Linked DNA regions of Homo sapiens: regions 1, 2, 3, 5, 6 and 7 are each linked to region 4. Evidence: promoter capture Hi-C in 16 types of primary human blood cells and fetal thymus (Javierre and others, 2016). All regions are on one chromosome and are shown on one strand. Each heading gives the region's core, a stretch centred on a gene start or on the middle of the fragment in contact. The rest is flanking DNA. Distances are from core to core; before and after follow the strand shown.

Region 1 (3,469 bases), core at 970-3,469, 170 kb before region 4:
TTTGTGTATATAGAGTTGGCTTGCATTTTAGGGGCCATTTTGTATAAAAAGTGCATATGATTAAAATTAGACTCAGTCATCACTGTGAGATGCCTTTGCTAAGAGGATAAAGGAACTGAGACCAGATGAGAAAAAGAAAGGATATAGATTCCTTGAGTGGAATAGTGGGCTAGATTAATATACCGAAATATTTCCATTGTTTCCCTTTTTTGCAGAGCATGTGGAAGTTAAACCTGCTTGATTCTACTATACATCTTGGGCAACTAGTTACCAAATGAATTGTGCCACCATAACTGATTTTAATTTTGCATTATTTATGATTTTAAAATATTTGTTGCCCAGGTGTTATGAAAGAATAAAGCTTTTAAGTATAGACTACCTTAGCATGAAGATGCTCATGCCTAAGAATGAAAATTGTTGAGGTTATCTCCCATTCAATCATGTAGCAAGAACTTAAAGAAATTCACTACTGCAGTTTTTATTTTTAAAAAACAGTAATTGAGATATTGAAGACATTACAATTTAGTTTGTGTGGTCTTTTTTTAAATTGCTGTATCGTTCAGTCTCTTGTGGCAATAGCACTTTGAAGAAAATAGAGAATTTAATATATGGTGATTGGGATATGTAGCATTCAAAAAAAGTGAATTGCCAAGATACTGGTGTCATGTAAATTCCCACTTTACATAAAAACCCATCAGGACAGAATGATGCTCAATATTTTAAAATTCTAAAAATAGGGTGGGATTTTTCATTGTCTCTACTTTATAATTATCAAAACTTATTTTGTATTGCTACTACCTTAAATTGAAATAAAATGTTTATACTTACGGATATTGCATAGTTTAAGTTAGATTTATTGAAAGATTTCATCTGTCGTGTTTCATGTAAATGAGAACAGATTATTTGCATGAAAATATATACTTCAACAAAAATCTGTTCTTTAACAGAGTAGTGGTAGATTATTACACTAATGAGATTTCACTTTGGTAAATACTTCATGCTTTCAGTTTTAGCCTATTAATTTTAGGTGGACAAATTTAACAAGTTTTCTGTTACTTTTTAAAAAGAAAAAATCCAGAACATAAGAACTATATTATGAACACATGATTTGAACCTGTTGTGGTAAAGATCTTGTACAGGATGCAAACTAAAAACCTAATCCCTGCCATCAAATTTATTAGAAGAGACCTATATATGAACAACTTAAAGGCACTGATTTCTATAATAGAGCTCTAAAAACATGCCACCAGTGTATGAATAAGGGAAAGATTAATTTTGGCTGGACCAATATAAAAAATTGTATTTGAAGAATTGATACTTTAACTTGGACCTTGAAGGTAAAGCTTCAAAAGACAGGTTACTGACCATTGAGTGTTTACTATGTACCCAATGTGTATATTTTTCTTTTTAATCTTCCCAATAGCTGAATAAAGTATAGATACTATTATTTGTACTTCTTACAATTGAGGAAATAAGCCTAAGAGATTAAAAGATTTTGCCCAGGGTTCACAAGCCTTCTTCCCTGAGCCCTGATTGAGCTGCTGTGTGTGTCTAATGGCACCCACAGTCACGGCCGTCTAGTCGAGGGAGGGACAAGATCTAGACCCATTGTAGAGGGAGGAAAAACAATCCAGGCCTTTTGGAGGTTCTAAATAACAGACAGACCAGTTGAATTGTTAGAGAGGATGACTCAAGTTTCTAATTCAGCACATGGACAGATGCTCATAGCTTCAGTGAAAGGTAAGTTTTGACACATTAAATTGCCCAGAAAATCCAGATCTGGAATCAACGTGGTATAGTAAGTGAGATCACCCAAAAAGTCAAGAGTCACGTGAACTAAAGATGGTTAAGAACTGATTTGGGGGAAGTTTTTTAGAAAGTATTTCTAATTTAGAAAAAAATACATAGACTAACAGGAGATACAAGAAAACGAGGGTTGGGGGAGGATTAAGAAGCCCAGTGAACAGAATTCCCAGAAGAGTATAATTAAATGTCAGATGTGGTGGAGATAAAGAGGCCACAGTGACAGCAGTAGGGGCAGACTACGTAAAACTAGAAATTTGACTAGGTGATAGTGTGAGAAGGGAGCCCTGGTCAAAAGGTGGTCTGCATCCTTTTCTGGTGTAGGAGACAAGCAAGTGGTAGGCTGATGGGAAAGGGGGATTGAGGCAGGAAACAAGAGAAATTCTTAATGCCCATAAGGAATACTCTAGTGCTACTGACTGACTGCCTAGGCTTTGTCTTTTGTAAAGACAAGGGAAAGAAAGCCCCAGTGTTAGAAAACTCCTTCCCACTTTCATTCTCTGCGAGAAGTACCTAGAAATTTCTAGTTATTAGACTGTATAACTTGACTCTGCTGTAAAAACTTTATCCTAGCTTGGGCTATTTTCCAGATGGTGTTTCTTCTAGGAGGAAAAAGAATTGCCTCAATTGCAGGGAAGTTTTTGCTAATGGTAAGTCAAGCAAGTCTCAGTGTCTTTACTACAGGTAAAAGGGTGTAAGGAGATTTTATGAGAACTGAATGAACCCTGAAGGTCACTAGTCAAATTCAGGTATGCTGTTAAGTGTTCTTGCTTGAGACCCAAATTACAAGACTGGCCAATTTTTGTATTTTTGGTAAAGACTGGGTTTCACTATGTTGCCCAGGCTGGTCTCGAACTCCTGGGCTCAAGTGATCCACCAGCCTTGGCCTCCCAAAGTGCTGGGATTACAGGCATGAGCCCTTGGGCCCAGCCGGCTGTTTAATGTTCTTAAATAGCACAAGGGACTTCTATGAACTTTCCTAGATGAAATATTTATTAACTACTAGGTAAAACACTTGTTTGATACTGCAAAGGGTTATTTCTGAAACTTAAACCTCATGATTGGCCAACCAAGAACTTTTTCTCCACAGCATGCTTTAATAATGAAATGCGGATTAAGAGTCCAATATTATAAAACATTTCCACAAAAGAAAGAATCCATCTGATTCTCAACTCTGAATGCACATTTGAATTCCCTCGGGGAGCTTTTAAAAGTCTAATGCCCCAGTGTACCCCCCCCAGTTAATTAATTAAATAATTCTCTGGGGATGAGAACTGACTGACAGCAACACTTAAGCTTCGAGACTGCAGTGTGCAGCCGAGGCCCACTCCTCCAGCGTCACCACCTCGTCTTTATCTGCCACTGTGTCTCCTCATTGCCCACAGCTTTAGCAACAGCAAAAGTAGAATTCAAACCTTGGTAAACAAGGCTTAAATTATTACTGTTCATGACCTTAATTAATTGAAAATGATTACTGGTGACCACAGCACTCCATGCTCTTCCTTATGGAAAAAGGGTTGCCTAGAAGATTTAGGCAATACTGGGAGTTCTTATTTGAAGTCACAGAAAGGAGAAACTTTTCTCAAGCCGTTTTTATTACACTTAGTGTATTAAGACAAGTACAAAATAACCTTGTAATTAAGATACTGTATCAGTCAAAAAAGAA
Region 2 (3,880 bases), core at 946-3,445, 230 kb before region 4:
TAAGAGAGGACACAAACAAACAGAAAAACAGTCCATGCTCATGGATAGGAAGACTCAATATCGTGAAAATGGCCATACTGCCCAAAGTAATATATAGATTCAATGCTATTCCCATCAAGCTACCATTGACTTTCTTCACAGAATTAGAAAAAACTACTTTAAATTTCATATGGAACCAAAAAAGAGCCCATATAGCCAAGACAATCCTAAGCAAAACGAAGAAAGTTGGAGGCATCATGCTACCTGACTTCAAACTATACTACAAGGCTACAGTAACCAAACAGCATGGTACTGGTACCAAAACAGATATATAGACCAATGGAACAGAACAGAGTCCTCAGAAATAACGCCACACATCCACAACCACCTGATCTTTGACAAACCTAACAAAAACAGCCAATGGGGAAAGGATTCCCTATTTAATAAATGGTGCTGGGAAAACTGGCTAGCCATATGTAGAAAGCTGAAACTGGATCCCTTCCTTTCACCTTACACAAAAATTAACTCAAGATGGATTAAAGACTTAAACATAAGACCTAAAACCACGAAAACCCTAGAAGAAAACCTAGGCAATGCCATTCAGGACATAGGCATGGGCAAAGACTTCATAACTAAAACACCAAAAGCAAGGGCAACAAAACCCAAAATTGACAAGTAGGACCTAATTAAACTAAAGAGCTCCTGCACAGCAAAAGAAACTATCATCAAAATGAATAGGCAACATACAGAATGGAAGAAAATTTTTGCAATCTATCCATCTGAAAAAGAGCTACTATCCAGAATCTACAAGGAACTTAAACACATTTACATGAAAAAAAAACCCATTAAAAAGTAGGCAAAGGATATGAAAAGATACTTCTCAAAAGAAGACATTTATGTGGCCAAGAAACTATGAAAAAAAGCTTATCATCACTGGTCATTAGAGAATGCAAATCAAAACCACAATGAGATACCACCTCATGCCAGTTAGAATGGCGATCCTTAAAAAGTCAGGAAACAACAGATGCTGGAGAGGATGTGGAGAAATAAGGATGCTTTTACACTGTTGGTGGGAGTGTAAATTACTTCAACCACTGTGGAAGACAGTGTGACAATTCCTCAAGTATCTAGAACCAGAAATACCATTTGACCCAGCAATCCCATTACTGGGTATATACCCAAAGGATTATAAATCATTCTACTATGAAGACACATGCACATGTATGTTTATTGCAGCACAATTCATAATAGCAAAGACTTGGAACCAACCCAAATGACCATTAATGATAGATTGGATAAAGAAACTGTGGCACATATACCCTATGGAATATTATGCAGCCATAAAAAGAATGAGTTCATGTCCTTTGCAAGGACATGGATGAAGCTGGAAACCATAATTCTCAGCAAACTAACACAGGAACAGAAAACCAAACACTGCATGTTCTCATTCATAAGGTGGAGTTGAATAATGTGAATACATGGACACAGGGTGGGGAACATCATACACCAGGGCCTGTTGCGGGGTGGGGGGCTAGGGGAAGGAGAGCATTAGGAGAAATACCTAATGTAGACGACGGGTTGATGGGTACACCCAACCACCATGGCACATGTATACCTATGTAGCAAACCTGCACATTCTGCACATGTATATCCCAGAACTTAAAGTATAATAAAATAAATAAATAAATAAATAAATAAATAATAAAAACACAAAAAATCATAATGGATGGTTACTCTGCTCACTACCTAGGTCCAATGTACCCATGTAACAATCCTATACATGCATCCCTTGTATCTGAAATAAAAGCTGAAAACTTTTTTAAAAGTACACATACAAAAATTTTAAAAAGCTTAAGAACAACAACAATGAAAAAAAAAAACCATAACGTGGAAATTCTGGATTGCATTCAGAGACTGTGTAGATGGAATGGAAGTCTGAGCTGGTGGAACTGCTCTCAAGACAGGCGTAGTTTTATTTTGAGCTGAAAAGGTTCCGGCTTGAGTAGTAGCCATCCTGTTGATGTTTTAAATTCTACTCATACTAATATGGTTCCCTGTGCCTGGGAAAAACTGTGTATAAACCAACACAATTTCCACTTGTTGTGTAATAGGAATATCTGCTACAGCAAAATTTCTTTTGAAAAGGGAGAAAACAATCTTATTTTCTATTTCTACTGAATAAACCAGCTTGCAATCATCTGAAAAGAATAAACTTCCTTAATTTGATGCCATTATACATTTAACCTTTGGGAATTTGTGAAGTGGAAGCACTTTCAAGTTCCTGCTCTGGAAGAGGACTGTGAATACTATTTTAGCCATCAGCCACGTAGAAGCTGTAACTACTAAAACAATGCAAATTATGTCATCCAGTCCAAGGTGTCTAGATGATAAGAGCAAGGTACAAGTGAGTGGCATTTTATGATTTAGCCTCATAAGTTAGATGGTAGCACTTCCACTATACACTATTAGTCAAGGCAGTCACAAAGTTATGTCCAGGATGCATGGTAGGGGACAAAGATCCTACCGCTTAAAAGAAGGGACATGAAGATACCCTTGTAAGGAGATCACGTGGGATGTAAGATAAAGCTTTTGGCCTATTTGTAAAATACAGTCTGCCACAGTTTGCTTTCTGGCCATATTTCTCATGCCTCCCACATGCAAAATACATTCAAATCACACCCCTAGAATTCTCAAGTCTCAAACTATTAAAACATCAGCTTGAAGTCCAGGAGCTTGTCATCTAAATCAGGTTCAGGTGAAGATGAGATGCCTTGGTGTGGTTCATTTGGGTGCAGCTCCTTAAATATCACTCCTTTTGATTAGAGCTCTGTTAAAGAGACAATCTGCACCCCCCCCCCCGCCCACACACACACCCAACGCACAGTGATAAGAGGCATAAGATGATCCCTATAGGAAAATCCTACTCGAAAGGGAGGAAGAGGCAAGCACACTGCAATAATCTAGAAAAATTCTGAAATGCAGTTTGGTATATGCTTCCAGTTCCTTATCAAGATTCAGTCCTACTGTCTGGGAGTTCTCTGTGAATTTCAAATTCCAAAACACATCTGGCTTAAGGGTGCAGTAAAGGATTGTGAAGCTGCACTCAGAGACTATAAGAAAAAGATGTGATAAACACTCCCATTGCCTATCAATGACTGAGCTCTTCAGAGGATGCTGTTGTTGCTTCTGTTTCCCAAGATGATCAGAGTTCAGGAAGTGGAATTCCAAGCAGCTCAGAGGTAAATGAGATAAGGGTTAAATGGTTCTGTAACCATTTCTTCTGCCCCTGCACTGACAGATTATCCCAAAAGAACACAGTCATGAAGAGTAAAGAGCACAGTCAAGTGTTGCAGGACATAACTTTGTCAAATACTTCATATGTGCCAGGTGTTGTGCTAAAGGCTTTACTGGCATTATCTCATTCAATCCTTCTAAAACTTTATGAGGTAGTTACTAATCTACCTATTTTACAGATGAGAAAAATTGAGGCTTAGAGATATTAATCAGTGTGCTGAAGGTTTGCAAAGTTAGAAAATGGTAACAAAATTGTGAAATGACTTTCTCCATCAATTTGCTTGTTTTCGTCATTAGAGTGGACATGAAAAAAATTTAATCTCTACATCAGCAGTCCCCAACCTTTTTGGTGTCAGGGACCAGTTCCATGAAAGACCATTTTTCCACAGACTGCGGGGATGGGGAGGGGATGATTCGAGCACACTACATTTATTGTGCACTTTGTTACTACTATTATTACATTGTAATATATGATGAAATAATTACACAATTCACATAATGCAGAATATGTGGGAGCCCTGAGCTTGTTTTCCTGCAACTAGATGGTCCCATCTGGGGGTGATGGAAGACAGTGACACCTGAAATGTGTTGCTTATGTCCAGTCTAC
Region 3 (3,504 bases), core at 260-2,759, 190 kb before region 4:
TCTGACAGGGGGCAGAGCTCAGGCTGTAATGCTCACTTGCCCACTGCTCACCTCCTGCTATGCGGCCCAGTTCCTAACAGGCCATGGACCAGTACCTGTCTGTGGCCCGGGGGTTGGGGACCCCTGCTCTAAAGCATAGTAGACACTGAATAAATACTTATGAAAGTGGGCCAGGCATGGTGGCTCACATTTATAATCCCGATACTTTGGGAAGCTGATGCAGAAGGATCTCTTGAGGCCAGGAGTTCGAGGCCAGGAGTTCAAAACCAGCCTGGGCAACATAGTAAGACCCCACCGCTACAAAAAATAAAAAAAAATTAGCTGGGCATGGTGCCATATATCTATAATTCCAGCTACTCAAGAGGCTGAGGTGGGAAGATTGCTTGAGCACAGAAGATCAAGGCTGCATTGAGCCATGATCACACCACTGTGCTTCAGCCTGAGTGATAGAGACCCTGTCTGAAAAAATAAAAAATTGTGAAAGGGGAAGAAAATAGGAAGATAGCTGGGCATAAGATACATGCCAGTGTGTTTTGTGTAAGCAAGTATTTTTCTTCCTAGAAGCCCTTGCATGCTGTCAGGCCTTTCAGACAGACCCTGTTTCTGCAATATCTGGTTAGAATATTTGACTTCATTACTTCTGAGGTTGTTGTTATTTTTAACTGAAAAATGGATTTGTTCTATGGATTCAAAAATAAAAAGATTATTAAACAAGTACTATTTCTTAATGAAGGACCCTTGATAACAGAACGAATAGAAGTAGTGATCAGTCAGCAATAACAGAGCACTACTGTGTGTTAATTAGACTGGTTTTCTTATGTGTGGCACATGGATTTACAGTCACGTGTTGCTTAATGATGAGTGTACATTCTAAGAAATGCATTGTTAGGTGATTTTGTTGTGGCATGAACATCATAAAATGTACTTACACAAACCTAGATGGTACAGCCTACTATACACCCAAGCTCTGTGGTATAGCCTAGTGCTCCTAGACTACAAACCTGTACAGCATGTTATTGTATTGAATACTGTAGGCAGTTATAACAACTTGGTATTTGTATATCTGAACATAGAAAAACACAGTAAAAATACAGTATAAAAGATTTTGTTAAATGGTACACCTGTATAGGGCACTTACATGGTTGGAGCTTGCAGGACTGGAAGTTGCTTTGGGTGAGTGAGTGAGTGGTGAGTGAATGGGAAAGCCTAGGACATTGCTGTACACTACTGTAGACTTTATGAATGCTAGACATGTAGACTTTATAAAAATATTTTTTTCTTCAATAATGAATTGTTCTAAGCCAGTCAAATCATCAGTGGTGGTTGTATACCAACTTTAGTGATATGTTATTAATAAGTTCTGATTAACCCATTACCATCGGAGCAGCCCAATAATAAATTAACCTTGGCTTACTGTAATTTTTTACTTTATAAACTTTAAATTTTTTTTAACTTTCTGGCTCTGTAATAACAACTAGCTGAAAACACAAACACATTGTAGAGCTGTACACAAGTACTTTACCTGAGCTTTTTTCTGTTAATTTTTTTTTAGGCTGTTTTCTTAAAATCCGAAACATAAACACACACATTAGCCTAGGCCCACATGGGGGCAGGATTATCAGGATGTCAATTGGCAATAGAACTTTTCCAGCTCCATTATAATCTTATGGAACCACTATGATATATGTAGTTCATCGCTGTCTTAACATTTCATTATATGGTGCATGACTGTATATGAAGTTAATGAGGACAGTAGGGACCTATTGCACCATTTTAAAATTTATAGTCTTGGAACTTTCTAAATTAGCTGGTCAGTGTTGAACCCCCCAGCCATGCTCTATAGAATTGCTTCTTTAAAAGTGGCATAAAAATTGCCCACTTAAAGCAAAAAATATAAAAATTATGTGAAATTAAGTACGCCAATAAGTTTGGGGTTTTTTAAAATTATAATTTGCCACAAATGCCAGTCAAAACATTTTAAGTGGCTGGGCACCGTGGGTCACCCCTATAATCCTAGCACTTTGGGAGGCTGAGGCAGGAGGAATGCTTGAGGCCACGAGTTCAAGACCAGCCTGAGCAACATAGCAAGACCCCATCTCTACAATAAATAATTTTTTAAAAAATTAGCTGGGCATGGTGGCACGTGCCTGTAGTCCCAGCTAATTGGGAGGCTGAGGTAGGAGGATCACTTGAGCCCAATGTTGCAGTGAGCTGAGATCACACCACTGCACTCCAGCCTAGTTGACACAGTGACACCCTGCCTCAAAAAATGTATATTTATATATAAAGGTTTTCTCCAGTACTCTTTTATTGGGTATATATTCAAGGAGTTTCCTAGGTGCATTATTTTTATTTTTTATTTTTTGCTACTTATATTTTGAAGTGTTTATTTAATTCTGACTTCTTTTTTTTTTTTTTTTTTTTTTTTTGAGACAGTCTCACTGTGTCGCCCAGGCTGGAGTGCAGTGGCGCGGTCTCAGCTCATTGCAAGCTCCGCCTCCCAGGTTCATGCCATTCTCCTGCCTCAGCCCCCCAAGTAGCTGAGACTACAGGCGCCCCACCACCACGCCCGGCCAATTTTTTATATTTTTAGTAGAGACAGGGTTTCTCCACGTTAGCCAGGATGGTCTCGATCTCCTGACCTCATGATCCACCCACCTTGGCCTCCCAAAGTGCTGGGATTACAGGCGTGAGCCCCCACGCCTGGCCAATTCTGACTTCTGTTTTAAAATATTTCCATATTTGATTCAAGCATTTATCTCTAGGACCTCTTTTTTGCAGAAAGACCTAATCTTAGACTCTGACAGCTCTGCTCAGTATTACATCATTGGTGACTTTCTTCACTTAAAGAGATTTTCAATATTTATTAATATTTGCATAAAAGTGCTATCATTTTTGTTTGACTACCTCTAATCTGCTTGCATATTCCAAGGTCTTCATTTTAGTCTCAGCGATTCTCTCTTTGGGTCATTTTTGTGTTTTTGAGGTGATGTTTCATAGTCTACTATGGAGTTACATCTCCAGATCAGGGTGCTGACTTCAGTTCAGACAGGTGTTATCATAGAATTTCTGAAGCTGTCCAAGGCTTTTCCTTTGCTGCTACTTGGAAATAACTTTAGAAATTGGATGCTTCAGCAAAATCAAATTTTTTTTTTTTTTTTTTTTTTTTGTTCTCTAGCATTCCTTCTTTTTAGAGCTGGTTCTCTACCCATCCAAACAAAATCTACATCCATATCTTGGTGTCCTTGAATATCACTGATGCTGGGGGTCTGTCTCTGAAAAGCTTAGCAACAATTTGCTCTCCTTTGTGCTCCTCTTTTAGGAAGTGTTGAGAGTCCTGAAATGAGTTAAATTTTTTGAAAAGAAAGGAATTAGAGTTAAATGTCGGTTGACTTATGTGTGGTGAGACACATACAGTGTAGAAGATACTGATGAAAGAAACTGTATTAATGAAGCTTCTAGGGAATATAGCCTAAGAGGAATGAGTCTTATGTCCAGAAATCA
Region 4 (3,806 bases), core at 777-3,276:
TATTCTGAATCTGTCACTGAAGTCACTTAGCATGAATTTATATTTTTGTTTTTAAAATTTTTAATGTTTAAAATTTTAAAATTCAGAACATAGGGTCTCACTATGCTGCCTAGGCTTGGCTAATTCATGTTGACTATTCACAGGCACAAGCCGCCTGCCTCAGCCTCTGGAGTAGCTGGCAATAGCCACCAGACCTGGCTCTTGAATTTAATATATAATGTTTACAACTATCAGATCAGCTTAAAGAAATAGAAAACACCCACTAAAGTTCTCTCTCCTATATGTTAACCAAACCAGAAACTGCTAAAACTTTGGTGTTAAGACCAAACAGTATATTTCTCTCCTAAAACGCAAAGCATTTTGATAGGCTTCTTAAATTCTCTACTTCGCACTCTCCCTAGGAATGCAATACAGCACACCTCTTCACATTTTTTTTTCTTTTGAGACAGAGTCTCGTTCTGTCACCAGGCTGGAGTGCAGTGGCACAATCTCGGCTCACTGCTATCTCCGCCTCCCGGGTTCAAGCGATTCTCCTGCCTCAGCCTTCCAAGTAGCTGGGACTACAGGCGAGCACCACCACACCCAGCTAATTTTTGTATTTTTAGTAAAGACGGGGTTTCATCATGTTGGCCAGGATGGTCTCGATCTCTTGACTTCGTGATCCGCCTGCCTTGGCCTCCCCAAGTACTGGGATTACAGGCATGAGCCATGGCACCCTCTTCACATTTTAAATGAAGAACAGCTCAGATAAGGCGTAATATTAGCTTACCTCTCTACATGATCTTAGCTCCTCAAACTCTCTGGTGGTCCAGTGTCTGTCTTTGAAGAAATTAGTGCTATTTCTTTTGTAAAAAAGATCCCAATTTTTCTGAGCCTCTTGTTCCAATTTCTGCTGTTTAAAATCAGACACCAAAGTTTGGTCTCTTTTCAGTTTCTCCTCTTCTTCAGAGGTGAGAATCCTTGCCTGCAGCCCTTTCCTTTGCAAAGAAGCCATCTCTGAAACTGACGGTAACACTTAACACAGCTGAAGATTCTCCATCACCAAATAATATGAATCCACGCTAATGGATCAGATACATTTCCTGAGGTGAGTTTCACGCCTCAAACAGCACAGGGGGCTTCGCAGAGAAAAGAATTAGATTCTGGTTAGTGGTTACAGTTCAAGACGCCAGGTTCAATTCACCAAATGTTTATGAGATGCAGACTGTACAAAAAAAAATCCTTCCCGCTATATGAGAGGTCACAAAGAAGACAAACACACAGTCCCTACCTTCAGTGGGCTTACATTCATTTCAGTGGCCAGACTATCTCATGCACCATACTTTTATTCAAACCAGATGAGTCAACTATTACAATAAATCGATTTAGTTTACGAAAAAGGACGCTCTCAAGAACTGACTGGGAAACCTTGCGAAGAAAATATTCCTCAATTTTCGGTGCCCGCGAAAGGGGTGACTTAAAAACCACAATGGCCTTAGCTGGAAGCGGGTGGTCAATTGTCAGATACAAGTGAGGTCATCGTTTCCCAAGGGTCGGACCTCCGTTTTTTCGGGGGAAATGAAGCTAAGCCTGGGTGGGCTCATTTCCTGATCACACTCACAAGAGGCTGTCATAGGAACCAGAGGGAGCGTCACTTTGCAGGGACTGAGACCCTCGCACCGCCATCACCGGGCAAAGTGGAGAAAGAGACCCAATGACGCGTGGCTGAGGTCCCGAGGATCCATCTCAGGACCCTCAGGATAGACTAGGCTGCATGGGCCCCTAGACCCTGAGGAGGGCGTCCATGATGGCTAGCCGACCCGCGTTAATTTAGTCAGCCACGCTCAGGGCTCACCGTCATCAGTTCCTAAATTCACCTGCAGGGCTAGGGCCAGGCGCACTCACCCCACAGCCAGCCCCACTGGGCCTCGGAGGCAGAATACGGGAAGAACCGCGAAACAACCCTAAACCAATTCTGAGGACCACGAATTCGGATTATCCGGGAGTTCTTTTGCCATGGCACCGCCCCCGCCACTTCCGCTAGGAACCCGGAAGTTCCTACCCGACGCCGGAAGTCCCACGGCCTTGCCTCCTCAGATTCCTCTCTCACCCCCACGCAGAGGAGAGAACTTGCTTCTGGACCCGGGTGGGTGCCGGCTCGGCTCTCCTTGTCTTCCAGAGCGGTGGCCCGGAAGCACAGTCCTCCCAGACGCCAGCGCCAGAAGCTCGGATCGCGGCTGCACCGGGAGAGCGCCGATCTGGGTGCGAGGCAGGTGCGGGGCCATGAATGGGACCGCAAACCCGCTGCTGGACCGCGAGGAACATTGCCTGAGGCTCGGGGAGAGCTTCGAGAAGCGGCCGCGGGCCTCCTTCCACACTATTCGTTGTAAGTCAGCGCTCCCCACGGTTCCCTTCGGCCGCTCCAGCCGCCACATATCAACCTTGACTCCTTCCTTTCTTCCCTCGGCCCTTCAGATTCCAGGGAACCCCCTGCCAGCGTCAGTTACTTTCTCTCGAACCCCAAATCCTTTGGGACATCGATTTGTCCCTTCTTTTACCCAGATTATTTCTCCCAAATCTTCGTCACTCCCTACTATTCTTCTACCTCACAGTCTCAAACACTAGTTCCAAAGGTCTTTGGCCTCTTTCCATTTCCATCCCTCCCCGCCCCCAACCTCGCCCCTAAGGCAAACCTCCCTCCCCCAAGGCAAACCTCCCCCCTCTTATCCGGGTCCACTTCTCCCTCGAAACCCCTCCCCTCCTTTCCGATGCTCCCATCAGGGTTCTCCACATTTAAAAGACGCTTCTTGTTTGTTATGAGCCTCATCCACTGCCTTAGAACCCATTCTCTTCCCTGCTTTTCTCCTCCGACTTGGTCCTGGACTCCCAAATACTGTGCTTTGTCCCCTCTACAGCCAAAGAATTGGCATCCTCTCTGCGCCTCATCAGAGTCTTCTTCCATCTCCTTTCTGTGCTTCATTTGACTTGGATGTCTTTTGAGGTCACCTATACCACCCGGGCTTTTCCTCCAGACCAAGTTCCTTGTGGGTAAAGAGTCAAATCAGAGTTCGTGAGCCTGGGATAGGTTAAAGATTGGTCTACGTTTGGAAGCAGAAGAGAGCAGGCGTAAGGAATGTCCAAATAGTCATTATGCCGGACCTTTTTCTACATAATTATAGACGCTGTTGAGAGAGTGCACTTCCACCCTATGTCCTGGGTGAAGGTTTGGCAGTTAGGAATTGGCTGACAGAGCATCCCTCCGTGATTCATGAACTTCTGGTTTCCGTGGTGCTAACGCTGTTGTTAAGACTTGTTTTTGTCAGAGGACCTAATAGATGTGACTCAACACATGTGAAGAGGGCGTTTTAGATAATGAAATCCCATCTTTGTGTAGTCACTTGCCATGCCATTGCTATGCTTCCTACTGACAGCAGATCCAGCTCTTTCAGAGAGAAGAGATGGGAATAAGATAAGAACATCATTTCCTGAAGAGTTTACTAAGTTGATGTTTTCTTTTGGTGAAGGGCAATGTGGAATTTAAATCATATAGTTCATGTGTGCACCTGTCCTGCAGTTTGAGGCAGGTGTGAATGTGAATTAAGATGGCTATTATGTTGTATTCTAACTGCAGTTTAGAAACACGAGCAGGATAACTTGCGGAGATACAGTTCAGTTGTCTGCTATGAACATCTACGAAGTGTCTTTGTTAAAGCTGTGGAACTGGCTGAGAGTGGTGGCTGACACTATAATCCCAGTACTTTGGGAGGCCGAGGTCGACAGATAGCTTGAGCCCAGGAGTTTGAGACCAGCCTGGGCAGCATAGTGAG
Region 5 (3,491 bases), core at 1-2,500, 150 kb before region 4:
AGTAGATACCTTTACCCCAAGATGGGCCATGTGATGGCAGCTGTGTGACTGCATGAGAAATCAGCACTGAAACATCACAGTCACCACTCTACAGGCTCACCTTGAATTCCCCAGCAGGGTAGAAGCCACAAACCCGCCTCTGCAGCGTCCCACCACCCTCCCTCGTCCCACCACCCTCCCTCGGTTAACCACATCCCCAAGTCAGTTACATAAGCCCTGGTGGGACGTCCCTAAGGCAGCCCCTGGGACTCGGGAAGAGGGGAACTACAGGGACCCCACCCTTCCCCAAGCAATTCTTGCATGACTTCGAGGAAGTCTTCAGAAACCACAGGCTGAGGACGCTTTGTGAAGAAGGTTAAAGAAGGGGGAACAAAAAAATCAGAGACTCAGAGCACGCCAGCCCCCAAGGCAAAGAACAGCTTTTCCCGAGCACTCTGTGATTGTGTACTGCATACCAGACCCAGACCCAGCCCTCCAGGCGACGATGACAATCAGATGGAGACCCGAACCAAGCATGGAGTGGACACTCAGAAGTCTGTAATACAACGCTGTATGTGACAGTGCCACAGCAGGAAGGGAGGAATGGCAGGGAATGTGAAGGAGAAATTATTTCCAGTACAAAGAACCAAGGAAGGCCTCTTAAAGGAGGAGGATCCCGAACTCAGGACTAAGGACACAAATGATTTGAAAACATGGGCTGATGAGGTGGGGGACAGAAGGAAGGATTTGAGACTCTAAAGACATTACAAAACAGAGTGCCTGTAGGATAAAGACATTACAAAACAGAGTGCCTGTAGGATAAAGACATTACAAAACAGAGTGCCCGTAGGATAAAGACATATTACAAAACAGAGTGCCTGTAGGATAAAGACATTACAAAACAGAGTGCCTGTAGGATAAAGACATTACAAAACAGAGTGCCTGTAGGAGATTCGATGATACCTCAGATCAAATTTTTAAAAAGGACTCCAGTGAAGACCTTGAATGAATGCCAGGCTAAACCTTCAACCAAAGTGGCCCAGGGACCTGCCCCTGCTGTGGACTCACCATGTGGCCCTGGGACCAGTCGCCCACTTCCACTCAGGTGTGCCTCAGCTACACAAGGAGAACAAGGATGCCCACCCTCCCTAGAGCTGACCAACTCACCCCCCCAACCCCTGCCCCACCTCGTGCCTCCAGGCCCATTAGTGGTTCTTAGTTCTTTCATGTGAGGACAGCCCTGCAGGGCCTCCGCAGGCCAAGCTGCTGGGAACGAGAGGAAGCAGAGGGAACCTGTCACCTTAAAAGCCACTCCACCCCCTACCCATAGGTGGCCTCTCCTACCTATATGCTTCACACCAACTCCAGGAGACAGGATGAATCCCACAGGATCCTAAAATGGGATTTGTATTTGCCTTTTTAGGAATTTTTTAGTATTTCAATTCAGCAACATTTAAGGGTAAACTCTCTTCTCCCAGTTCTCTCTGCTTCAGTTATGAATCCCTTATTTCTTCAAGCAAGAAAAGATGCTCTTTTGACGGCCTTCTGAAAGGTGGCTGCTGTACCACGGGCCCAGCACCTCTTCACACCCTCTGCCATGTATCTGATGAGTTCCAAATAAGAGAACCAGATCTCTACAAAGGAAAAGAGGAAGCCCATGTGAAGCTGCCTTTGAGAAGAACATGTGCTGTCAAATTCCGGACAAGCGTCTGAAGTTTCTGCGAGATTCCTTCTCCTGTACAGTGACATAGGATACATGTTTGCCTTGCCATATCACAGGTACAACTAATGTGAGGCCTCATTCCACATTTAACCCACAGAAACCAGATGCCATCTCTCCATAATTCATGCACTTACCGGTTCATTCACTCAAGTAAGCACTGGGCACCTGTCATGCCCCACTGTCTATTCTCTCTATTCGTTGTGGTCTCAAAGGGAGGCAATATCTCAGCTAAAGACCCTCACTTCCCAGCCCTCACTACAACTGGTCCCTCTGGTAAGTGACAGCTAATGAGAGGTAAATGAACACTGAGTGAGATTTCCAGGAAGGCTCCTGTTATGGACTGAATGTTTGTGCCCACCCAAATTTACATATTGAAGCCCTAATCCCTAATGTGATTATATTAGGAAGTGGGGCCTTTGGGAGCCATATTAGTCCATTCTTGTACTGCTATAAAGAAATACCTATGGGCCGGGCATGGTGGCTCACGCCTGGAATCCCAGCACTTTGGGGAGGCCAAGGCAGGTGGATCACTTGAGGCCAGGAATTCAAGACTAGCCTGCCCAACATGGTGAAACACCGTCTCTACTAAAAATACAAAAAAATTAGCTGGGTGTGGTGGCAGAAGTCTATAGTCCCAGCTACTCGGGAGGCTGAGGCAGGAGAATCACCTGAACCCAGGAGGCGGAGGTTGCAGTGAGCTAAGATCACACCATTGCACTCTAGCCTGGGTGACAGAGCAAGACTCTAGCTCAACAAAAAAAAAAGAAAGAAAGAAAGAAAGAAATACCTGAGACTGCGTAATTTATAAAGAAAAGAGGCTTAATCGGCTCACAGTTCAGCAGGCTGTACAAGAAGCCTGATTCTGGTATCTGCTCAGCTTCTGGGGAGGCCTCAGGATACTTACAATCATGGCAGAAGGCAAAGGGGGAACAGGGCATCTCACAAAGTGCCTGGACTTGGATCCTGGGTGCGGGGAAAGTGCTACACACTTTTTTTTTGTTGGTTGGTTGGTTGTCTGAGACTGAATCTCACTCTATCGCCCAGGCTGGAGTATAGTGGTGCGATCTTGGCTCAATGCAACCTCTGCCTCCCGGGTTCAAGTAATTCTCCTGCCTCAGCCTCCTGAGTAGCTGGGACTACAGGTCCATGCCACCACCACTGGACAGTCTCCCTGCCAGCAATACATGGCAAGAGTAGCTGCTAAGACACCAATAATAATTTTTGTATTTTTAGTAGAGACAGGGTTTCGCCATGTTGGCCAAGCCGGTCTCAAACTCCTGACCTCAGATGATCTACCTGCCTCGGCCTCCCAAAGTGCTGGGATTACAGGGTTGCAGGTGTGAGCCGCCACACCCAGTCGCTACACACTTTTAAACCAGATCTCATGAGAACTCATTGTCCAAACAACAGTGCTTGGGAGGTGGTGCTATACCATTCATGAGCAACAGCCTCCATGATTAAATCATCTCCCGCCAAGCCCCACCTCCAACATCGCTGATTACAATTCGACAGGAGATTTGGGAGGGAGCACAGACCCAAACCTTATCAGGAAGTAATTAGGGTTAGATGAGGTCCTGAGGGTGGGACCCTCATGAGGAGATCAGTGCCCTTGTAAGAAGGGGAAGAGAGGGAGATCTCTCCCTCTGGTGCACTGAGGAAGCACCATGCTGTCAAAAGGTCTCCTAGGGAAGATTCTGCAAAGCAGGAGTGTATCAGGCAGCAGGCCAGGCCAAGACAGGAAGCACCAAAGAGTTTACACACTTATCTAACTGAGGAAAGTTTAACTGCG
Region 6 (3,437 bases), core at 244-2,743, 210 kb before region 4:
AAGCTCTACATTCAGCAGGTTAGTAAAGGACTACTAAACTTGTCACTCTATTTTTTCTTTTCTCCCATCATGTCTTTCCCCCATGTTTGTTTCTCTTCTTCATTTTTATCTTTGAATCTTGATGCTCACTCTGTTGCTGCTCATTCCACTTTTGGTAATCACCTCTTTAAAAGTCATTTAGAAATAAGTCATAGATCTTTGAAGAGGAACCTTATAGACAATATAGTCCAGTTTCCTAATTTCCCAGAGTGCAGAGATGGTGAATTACCTATGTTCAAACAATTTATCATTGGCAAAGTTAGGATTAGGATTCAGTTAAAGTCTGCTTTTAAAATATCTGTCACGTCTCTTCCTTATAAAATTAAGTGACTGTTCCTCTTCAGTGTTTACAGACTTCAGCAGTAGGTTCACAGTGTCTTCTCTTTCGGTGTCTTCTACTTTCAGACCTTTGCTAAACTCTTTAAAACCATATCTTGGGAAAGTGACATGTAAACAGAGACTTGGAACTACTTGTATTTATTTTTGTAAACAGCACAACAGGTACAATAATAGAAATATATAGTCTTAATGGTCACAGTTTTGTTAGAGGTAACTGATGTTGACATTGTATTTACAAATACATTGATTTCTGTAGGGATTCTTTTTAACCCTCTTTTTCTGTTGCTGCATGATAAAGCGCCAAGCAGAAGAATATTTATTCTCATGGACTTTGTGTAACTTTCTACCACTCATTTTGAGTAGATACGAGCAATTACAAGAACATCGTTGGGATAAAGTAGATTTAATCATTGGATTCCTTGTTATGACAGTTCCCTTAAAAACAAGGCGGTTTACTTTTAATACAGTGCCCAGAAATTGCATGTATTGAAAAGTGTACTGCCTGTGTTATTGGAACCTCACTTGATACAAAGTATTGATTCATGTATTCAAAATATCATATAAAATTCAAAGGAACTTTCTTTTCCCAGCCAAGTAAATGAAGTTCTTAAATTTAACTGCCCAATATTAGGAACTTTGTTTCATAACCAGTGTTTTCAAATAAAATTATCTTTGAAGTAGGGAAGGTAGTCTTTCATGTTTACTTCCATGATCTCCTTGTTTTTTCATAGATAGTTTTCTTCATTTCAATAACTATGTATTGAATACATGTTTGGGCTCTATGGTAAGTACAGGGTAATAGATGAGTGACAGTCCATGTCCTCAGGAGGACTTCATCAGGTGTGGAGAGAGAACAGTGTCAACATTGCACTATCATGGAAACCCCTTTCTGAAGCATGCTAGACTAAATGTTAAAGCAGAATGCTCTAGAAAGGAGAGATTATATGGTGATATTATTCCAGGAGTAGAATCTCTGGCAGCCTAAGGTATATTTCCATCTTTCTTTTCCATATGTACACACAGTCAAGCACATTTATGCCCTAGGGTCTTGATTCCAGTAAGATTGCTCTTTAAACCCTTGAAATCCTTGTGACAATTGGAAAAAATAAATATGAATCATTTTTTTCTAAGGAATTTTAAAAATTATTCTTACTTTATATTAAATACAGCTAAGCCTAAAAACTTACATGTGATTTTTGGGAAATAAATTCTAAACATTGATATATATGTGATATTCAAGCATCAAATGAGACACCCCAATCTCTTGAAGAATAAAGACTTGCCAGTGAAATAGAGTTCAAAAAGGATTTTTTTTTTTTTTTTTTGAGGTGGAGTCTCGTTCTGTCTTCCAGGCTGGAGTGCAGTGGCGCGATCTCAGCTCACTGCCAAGTTCCGCCTCCGGGGTTCACGCCATTCTCCTGCGTCAGCCTCCCCAGTAGCTGAGACTACAGGCGCCTGCCACCACACCCAGCTGATTTTTTATATTTTTAGTAGAGACAGGATTTCACCATGTTAGCCAGGATGGTCTCGATCTCCTGACCTCGTGATCCACCCGCCTCGGCCTCCCAAAGTGCTGGGATTACAGGCGTGAGCCACCATGCCTGGCCTTAAAAAGGATTTTTAAAGCATAACATAGCTTGTTTTACCAACTTCTTTCTGCTTTTGTTGAAGAAATGGAGTATAATCTCTAGACAATTTAAAGGATTTTCTTATTTATTATTTTAAGCAGAAAAGTCCTTTTTCAAATAAAAATCCTGTTAGGAACCCTAAGTTTTAAAACAAGATAGTCTGCTGACAGTTAAGAGAATCCTGAGAGAGAGTTGATTTTGGGGTGGGGAAAGGTAACATAATTTAAAATTAACCAGTATAGGCCGGCACAGTGGCTCATGCCTGTAATCCCAGCACTTTGGGAAGCTGAGGCAGGAGAATCCCTTGAATCTAGGAGTTCAAGATCAGCCTAGGCAACATAGACTTCACCCCTACAAAAATTGAAAAAATTTGCTGGGCATGGTGGTGTGTGCCTGTAGTCCCAGCTCCTCAGAGGTTGAGGCAGGAAGATTGCTTGAGCCCAGGAGGTTGAGGCTGCACTGACCCGTGATTACACCACTGCCCTCAGCCTGGATGACAGAGTAAGACCCTGTCTCGAAAAATAAAAAGTAAAATTAACCGTCGTAGTACAGAGTTCAAGACTTGGAATTAAAAGATCCCTGTTGAGTCTCTACCCTTTCACTTGTAGCTGTGAAATCTTAGACTAGATCAATGGGTCTCAGTAGAAAGCAATTTGCCCCCCAGGGGACATTTGGCAATTTCTGGAGAAGTTTTTGGTTTTCACGCTGCTGGGTGGCAAGGAATATGCTTCTGGGATTTAGCTGGGTAGAGGCCAAGGCTGTTGCTAAAAAGTCTCCCACAACAAAGAATTATCCAGCCCAAAATGTCAATAATGCCAGGCTGAGAAACACTGGGCTAGATATTTCAACATTTTTGAGCTTTGGTATCTTTTTCATCAATGGAATTAGTATATACTTCAGAGAGGCATTTAAGAAGGCTAAAGTTTTGAAAACATCAGCACAAACTGGGCACAGTGGTGAGTGCCTGTAGTTCCAGCCACTTGGGAGGCTAAGGCAGAAGGGTCACTTGAGCCCAGTAGTTTAAGAGTTTAAGGCCAGCCTGGGCAACCTAGTGAGACCGTGTATTTAAAAAAAAACCAAAAACACGTAACTTTAAAGAACTAACAAAATCTCAGACTTTTCTTAAATAGCAAGTTTAGCGAGATACAATTTCCATATCATAAAATTCACCCTCTTAAAGTATATAATTCAGGTGTTTTTAGCCTATTCCCAGAGTTGTGCAGTCATCCCCACTATCTAATTTTAGAAAGTTTTCATCACCCCAAGAGAAACCTCTTACCCATTAGCAGTCAATCCCCATTCCTCCCTCCCCCTAGCCACCACTAATCTTGTTGTTTCTATGGATTTGCCTATTGTGGATATTTCATACAAATGGAATCATCCAAAACATGGCCCTTTTGCCATGTGGCTTCTTTCACTGAGTTTAATGTT
Region 7 (3,767 bases), core at 253-2,752, 140 kb after region 4:
TGTCAAGGATAGAAAAAAGCCACCCATGTTTGCTTGGAAGACTATAAACATATTCCTAGAATACTAAGTAAACAATTATCATGATACCAAGAACACATCAAGCATAAAAACTCTACAAAACCTCACCTAAGGATACTTTTATGAAATATGTCCTTACATACTAAACATGTATTAATTCTCAAACGTCTTCTTAATCTGCACTATTACAGTTTCATATTAAACACATTATAATGAATTACGACTTCTTTCTTCTTTAGAAGTCTTACCTGTGACGAGGAAGGTAGTTCTGAAGCACAGTCCGTCCAATGTCCATAGTATTTGCTCCTTCACTTACCACGAAACAGTCTCTAGGTAGTTGTTCTTGAACATGGTAGAATACTGTGTAATAATTCATAGGCAGGGATTTTTTAGAAGCTAGTTCCTGAAAAGTAGATGGGAATATAATCAAATTAAATTGGGATACAATGAAAATAACCAATGTTAATAAGATGCTATCAAACTTATTTGGAAATACGCAACAACTACAAGCTACAAGGTTTCCAAATGGCTATAAAATGGCCACTCTGAGAAGTTGGCTGACCTGTGAACAGCCCTGGGGGACATGTGTACCACAGTCCCAGTTGGGAACACAATTAAATAAGCTCGGGAATATCCCGCCTCTTGGAGATCTGCAATGCACAGGAGTGTATTAAAGACATTGAGAAGTCCTACAGTAAAGACAGCTGAGAAGCACTGGGTTACATAAAACTAAACGTTCTTATTTGAGCACTCTTAGGAAAACGGTGCCTTAGAAAAAGTGAAATTTATTCCAGAATATTTTCATCTGAACTATGACCCTAAACTTAAAATGTCACAATTTTAGAATACAATCTGAAAATCTAGTTTTTCCCCCAACACACTTAAGAGTTAAAGGAGCTATCTTACCCCCACTATTCTAAAGAGTCCCTGAATGGAGAGAAAAACAGCAAGGTAAACGCCTTTGTCTAGCCACATGCCTTTCAGGGCTGAGAAAAAGCCATAGAGAGCTTTAGCAGCAACAGTCCCATCTGGCCCCAGGACTGCCTCTTCACCTATGCTACTTTGTTCTGCTGGAGATTATACACAAGGTAAAGAGGGACCCTCCTATACTCCTGCACTAAAGAAGAGAAGCAAGTCCCTTCTATCTTAAACCAACATCGTTCCTATGCGAAAGAAAAGATTAGTCATGATATGACTCAGGAAATAAAATTGAGACTGGTGGCCAGGCATGGTAGCTCACGCCTGTAATCCCAGCACTTTGGGAGGCCAAGGCGGGCGGATCACGAGGTTAGGAGTTCGAGATCATCCTGGCCAACATGGTGAAATCCTGTCTCTACTAAAAAAAATACAAAAATTGGCTGGGTGCGGTGGCTCACGCCTGTAATCCCAGCACTTTGGGAGGCCGAGGTGGGCAGGTCACCTGAGGTCGGGAGTTCGAGACCAGCCTGACCAACATGGAGAAGCTCTGTCTCTATTAAAAATACAAAATTAGTCAGGCATGGTGGCACATGCCTGTAATCCAGCTACTCGGGATGCTGAGGCAGGAGAATTGCATGAACCCAGGAGGCGGAGGTTGCGGTGAGCCAAGCTCGTGTCATTGCACTCCAGCCTGGGCAACAAAAGCAAGACTCCATCTCAAAAAAGAAAAAAAAAAAAAGTAGCCAGGCATGGTGCCAGCTACCTGTAATCCCAGCTACTCGGGAGGCTGAGGCAGGAGAATTGCTTGAAACTGGAAGGCAGAGGTTGCAGTGAGCTGAGATCGCGCCACTGCACTCCAGCCTGGGCAACAAGAGTGAAACTCCATCTCAAAAAAAAAAAAAAATTGAGACTGGCTCCAGATAGAAACAGTCATTGATTAAAATTCTAATGTAGGCCAGGCACGGTGGCTCATGCCTGTAATCCCAGCACTTTGGGAGGCCAAGGCGGGCGGATCACGAGGTCAAGAGATCAAGACCATCCTGGCCAACATGGTGAAACTCCATCTCTACCAAAAATACAAAAATTAGCTGGGCGTGGTGGCACACGTCTGTAGTCCCAGCTACTTGGGAGGCTGATGCAGGAGAATTGCTTAAACCTGCGAGGCAGAGGTTGCAGTGAGCCAAGATCACGCCATTGCACTCCAGCCCTCTAGCCTGGCGACAGAGTGAGACTCTGTCCCCAAAAAAAAAAAAAATTCCAATGTAAGACAGATTCATGTACAATCAATTCTGCTATAATGTTTGATGCGAAAATGTGAATTTATTCTAAGACAATTGATATATTAGGGAACCAAGTGAGCATAACTCAAATTTTATATTTGCTTATGCGTGATTCCACCAGTAAGAAACACTGGTGGAATCACGCATAAGACACAGAAAACTGCACCCAGCTGAACAAAGATACATATGAATACACAAAACAATAAAAAAAAACCACCTTTCTCACATAGGGAAAGCACAATACACACACATGCACACACACACACACACACTTTACTAGAAATCGCCAAATCCTGCAGCACTGACTCATTTTAGTGCTAGTAGTAGACAGTTTGATGGTTTCTAGTATCATCACTACAATTTCCAAAACCTTAGCTACCAGGCAAAGCCAAGAGTGCAAATGAGAGCGCTGCAAAAAAATTTCCAGCAGTGATAAAAATGTTAAATAAAAAAGAAGGCTATACATTGGATCAAAATTTCAATTTTTATGAAACAGCTATTATAATAGCACGCCCTGAAGGACCTATATCTTAAAAGCAGAAAAACATCTCAACCCAAGATTTAAGGATTCAAAAAAAAAAAAACCACTTAATAGTTAATTTGTTTTTCTTTTAGAGACAGGTTCTCACTCTGTCACCCAGGCTTGAGTGCAGTGGCATGATCTACTACTGCACTGCCACCTCAACTCCTAGAGTCAAGCAATCCTCCAACCTCAGCCTCCTGAGGAGACAAGACAACAGGTGTGTGCCACCACATCTGGCTTTTCTTTTTTTTTTTGTAGAGACAAGGTCTTGCTATGCCCAGGTTGGTCTCAAACTCCAGGCCTCAATTGATCTTACTGCCTTGGCCTCCTAAAGCACTAGGATTACAGGTGTTTAATTGTGATGTTCTATGCCACCATCAAACTGAAGGCACACCCATCCACTTCCACTATTATGACTTTCTATCCAATGTCCAATCACCTTCCTTCCACCAGCTCACAGTAACTCACAAGCTACAACCTTTCAGAAACTTCAGGTCTTTTTCAAGGTAAAATGCTATATTCATTGGCATATATTTCTTAACCATTTAACACGTTTAAAACATTAGGTTCTTATCTTATTTTTATGTTACACAAAGTTTTTGAGAGTTGTGCCACTAAATCCCTTTTTCCATGAGACCTGGGGTTTTCACTGCACAATTTTGCACATCAAGGTGATTTTTAGGAATGCACATGTCACATTACGGCAGAAGTAACTGAATCATGAGCCTGACCTGTTATTGAGCGTCAGTAGGTCCGATTTTACCTTGGATGCAGCTTCATTGCTCTTCATTTTTTCTCTCAGAGTTTTCCACCACTTGCTCTCTGGAGGATACTGCCATGGTGTTTTATCAAGTTCCTCTAAAAGCTTAAAAAAAAAAAAACACACACACACAAACACATAAACTTTTTCTTTGCCTTTTTTTTCTTTTTTTTTTTTTTTTTTTTTTTTTTTTGAGACGAAGTCTCGTTCTGTCACCCAGGCTGGAGTGCAGTGGCGCAATCTCAGCTCACTGCAACCTCTGTCTCCC

The links. Contacts are between HindIII fragments. The CHiCAGO score rates a contact against its expected background, and 5 or more counts as called.
Region 1: a contact is called between a fragment that was not itself captured here and the fragment with the promoter of METTL6 in region 4, in 12 of 17 cell types (monocytes, total B cells, naive B cells and 9 more). The highest score is 8.5, in monocytes.
Region 2: a fragment that was not itself captured here is called in contact with the fragment with the promoter of METTL6 in region 4 in 6 of 17 cell types (activated CD4 T cells, naive CD8 T cells, naive B cells and 3 more); the score reaches 7.0 in activated CD4 T cells.
Region 3: a contact is called between a fragment that was not itself captured here and the fragment with the promoter of METTL6 in region 4, in 1 of 17 cell types (naive B cells). The highest score is 5.2, in naive B cells.
Region 5: a contact is called between a fragment that was not itself captured here and the fragment with the promoter of METTL6 in region 4, in 1 of 17 cell types (monocytes). The highest score is 6.3, in monocytes.
Region 6: a contact is called between a fragment that was not itself captured here and the fragment with the promoter of METTL6 in region 4, in 8 of 17 cell types (naive CD8 T cells, fetal thymus, activated CD4 T cells and 5 more). The highest score is 7.9, in naive CD8 T cells.
Region 7: a contact is called between a fragment that was not itself captured here and the fragment with the promoter of METTL6 in region 4, in 5 of 17 cell types (M2 macrophages, M1 macrophages, M0 macrophages and 2 more). The highest score is 6.7, in M2 macrophages.

Annotation. Positions count from the first base shown.
Region 1 is chr3:15,251,473-15,254,941 of GRCh38, forward strand. It overlaps CAPN7 (calpain 7), which reads left to right. Exons shown (of 21, transcript NM_014296.3): 21 at 1-1,444. SH3BP5 (SH3 domain binding protein 5) reads right to left here. Exons shown (of 9, transcript NM_004844.5): 9 at 2,881-3,469. It overlaps SH3BP5-AS1 (SH3BP5 antisense RNA 1), which reads left to right and starts at 2,712. Exons shown (of 3, transcript NR_046084.1): 1 at 2,712-3,469. The HindIII fragment of the contact is 1,756 bases long and covers 1,342-3,097 here.
Region 2 is chr3:15,194,082-15,197,961 of GRCh38, forward strand. It overlaps the pseudogene COL6A4P1. Among named protein-coding and RNA genes, the nearest start is that of CAPN7, 10 kb to the right of the region's middle. The HindIII fragment of the contact is 736 bases long and covers 1,828-2,563 here.
Region 3 is chr3:15,235,705-15,239,208 of GRCh38, forward strand. The region is part of intron 12 of CAPN7 (calpain 7); the gene reads left to right. Among named protein-coding and RNA genes, the nearest start is that of SH3BP5-AS1, 17 kb to the right of the region's middle. The HindIII fragment of the contact is 3,544 bases long and covers 1-3,281 here.
Region 4 is chr3:15,425,518-15,429,323 of GRCh38, forward strand. METTL6 (methyltransferase 6, tRNA N3-cytidine) reads right to left here and starts at 2,027. Exons shown (of 6, transcript NM_152396.4): 1 at 1,885-2,027; 2 at 770-1,118. The coding sequence starts at 994. EAF1 (ELL associated factor 1) reads left to right here and starts at 2,081. Exons shown (of 6, transcript NM_033083.7): 1 at 2,081-2,365. The coding sequence starts at 2,263. RefSeq lists a silencer at 1,998-2,161 and an enhancer at 2,158-2,437. The HindIII fragment of the contact is 9,714 bases long and covers 1-3,806 here.
Region 5 is chr3:15,271,793-15,275,283 of GRCh38, forward strand. All of the region lies in intron 3 of SH3BP5 (SH3 domain binding protein 5), which reads right to left. Among named protein-coding and RNA genes, the nearest start is that of SH3BP5-AS1, 19 kb to the left of the region's middle. The HindIII fragment of the contact is 9,619 bases long and covers 1-3,491 here.
Region 6 is chr3:15,212,195-15,215,631 of GRCh38, forward strand. It overlaps CAPN7 (calpain 7), which reads left to right. Exons shown (of 21, transcript NM_014296.3): 2 at 1-18. Among named protein-coding and RNA genes, the nearest start is that of CAPN7, 7.7 kb to the left of the region's middle. The HindIII fragment of the contact is 7,625 bases long and covers 1-3,437 here.
Region 7 is chr3:15,568,166-15,571,932 of GRCh38, forward strand. It overlaps HACL1 (2-hydroxyacyl-CoA lyase 1), which reads right to left. Exons shown (of 17, transcript NM_012260.4): 12 at 3,503-3,604; 13 at 267-421. Among named protein-coding and RNA genes, the nearest start is that of HACL1, 32 kb to the right of the region's middle. The HindIII fragment of the contact is 4,200 bases long and covers 1-3,602 here.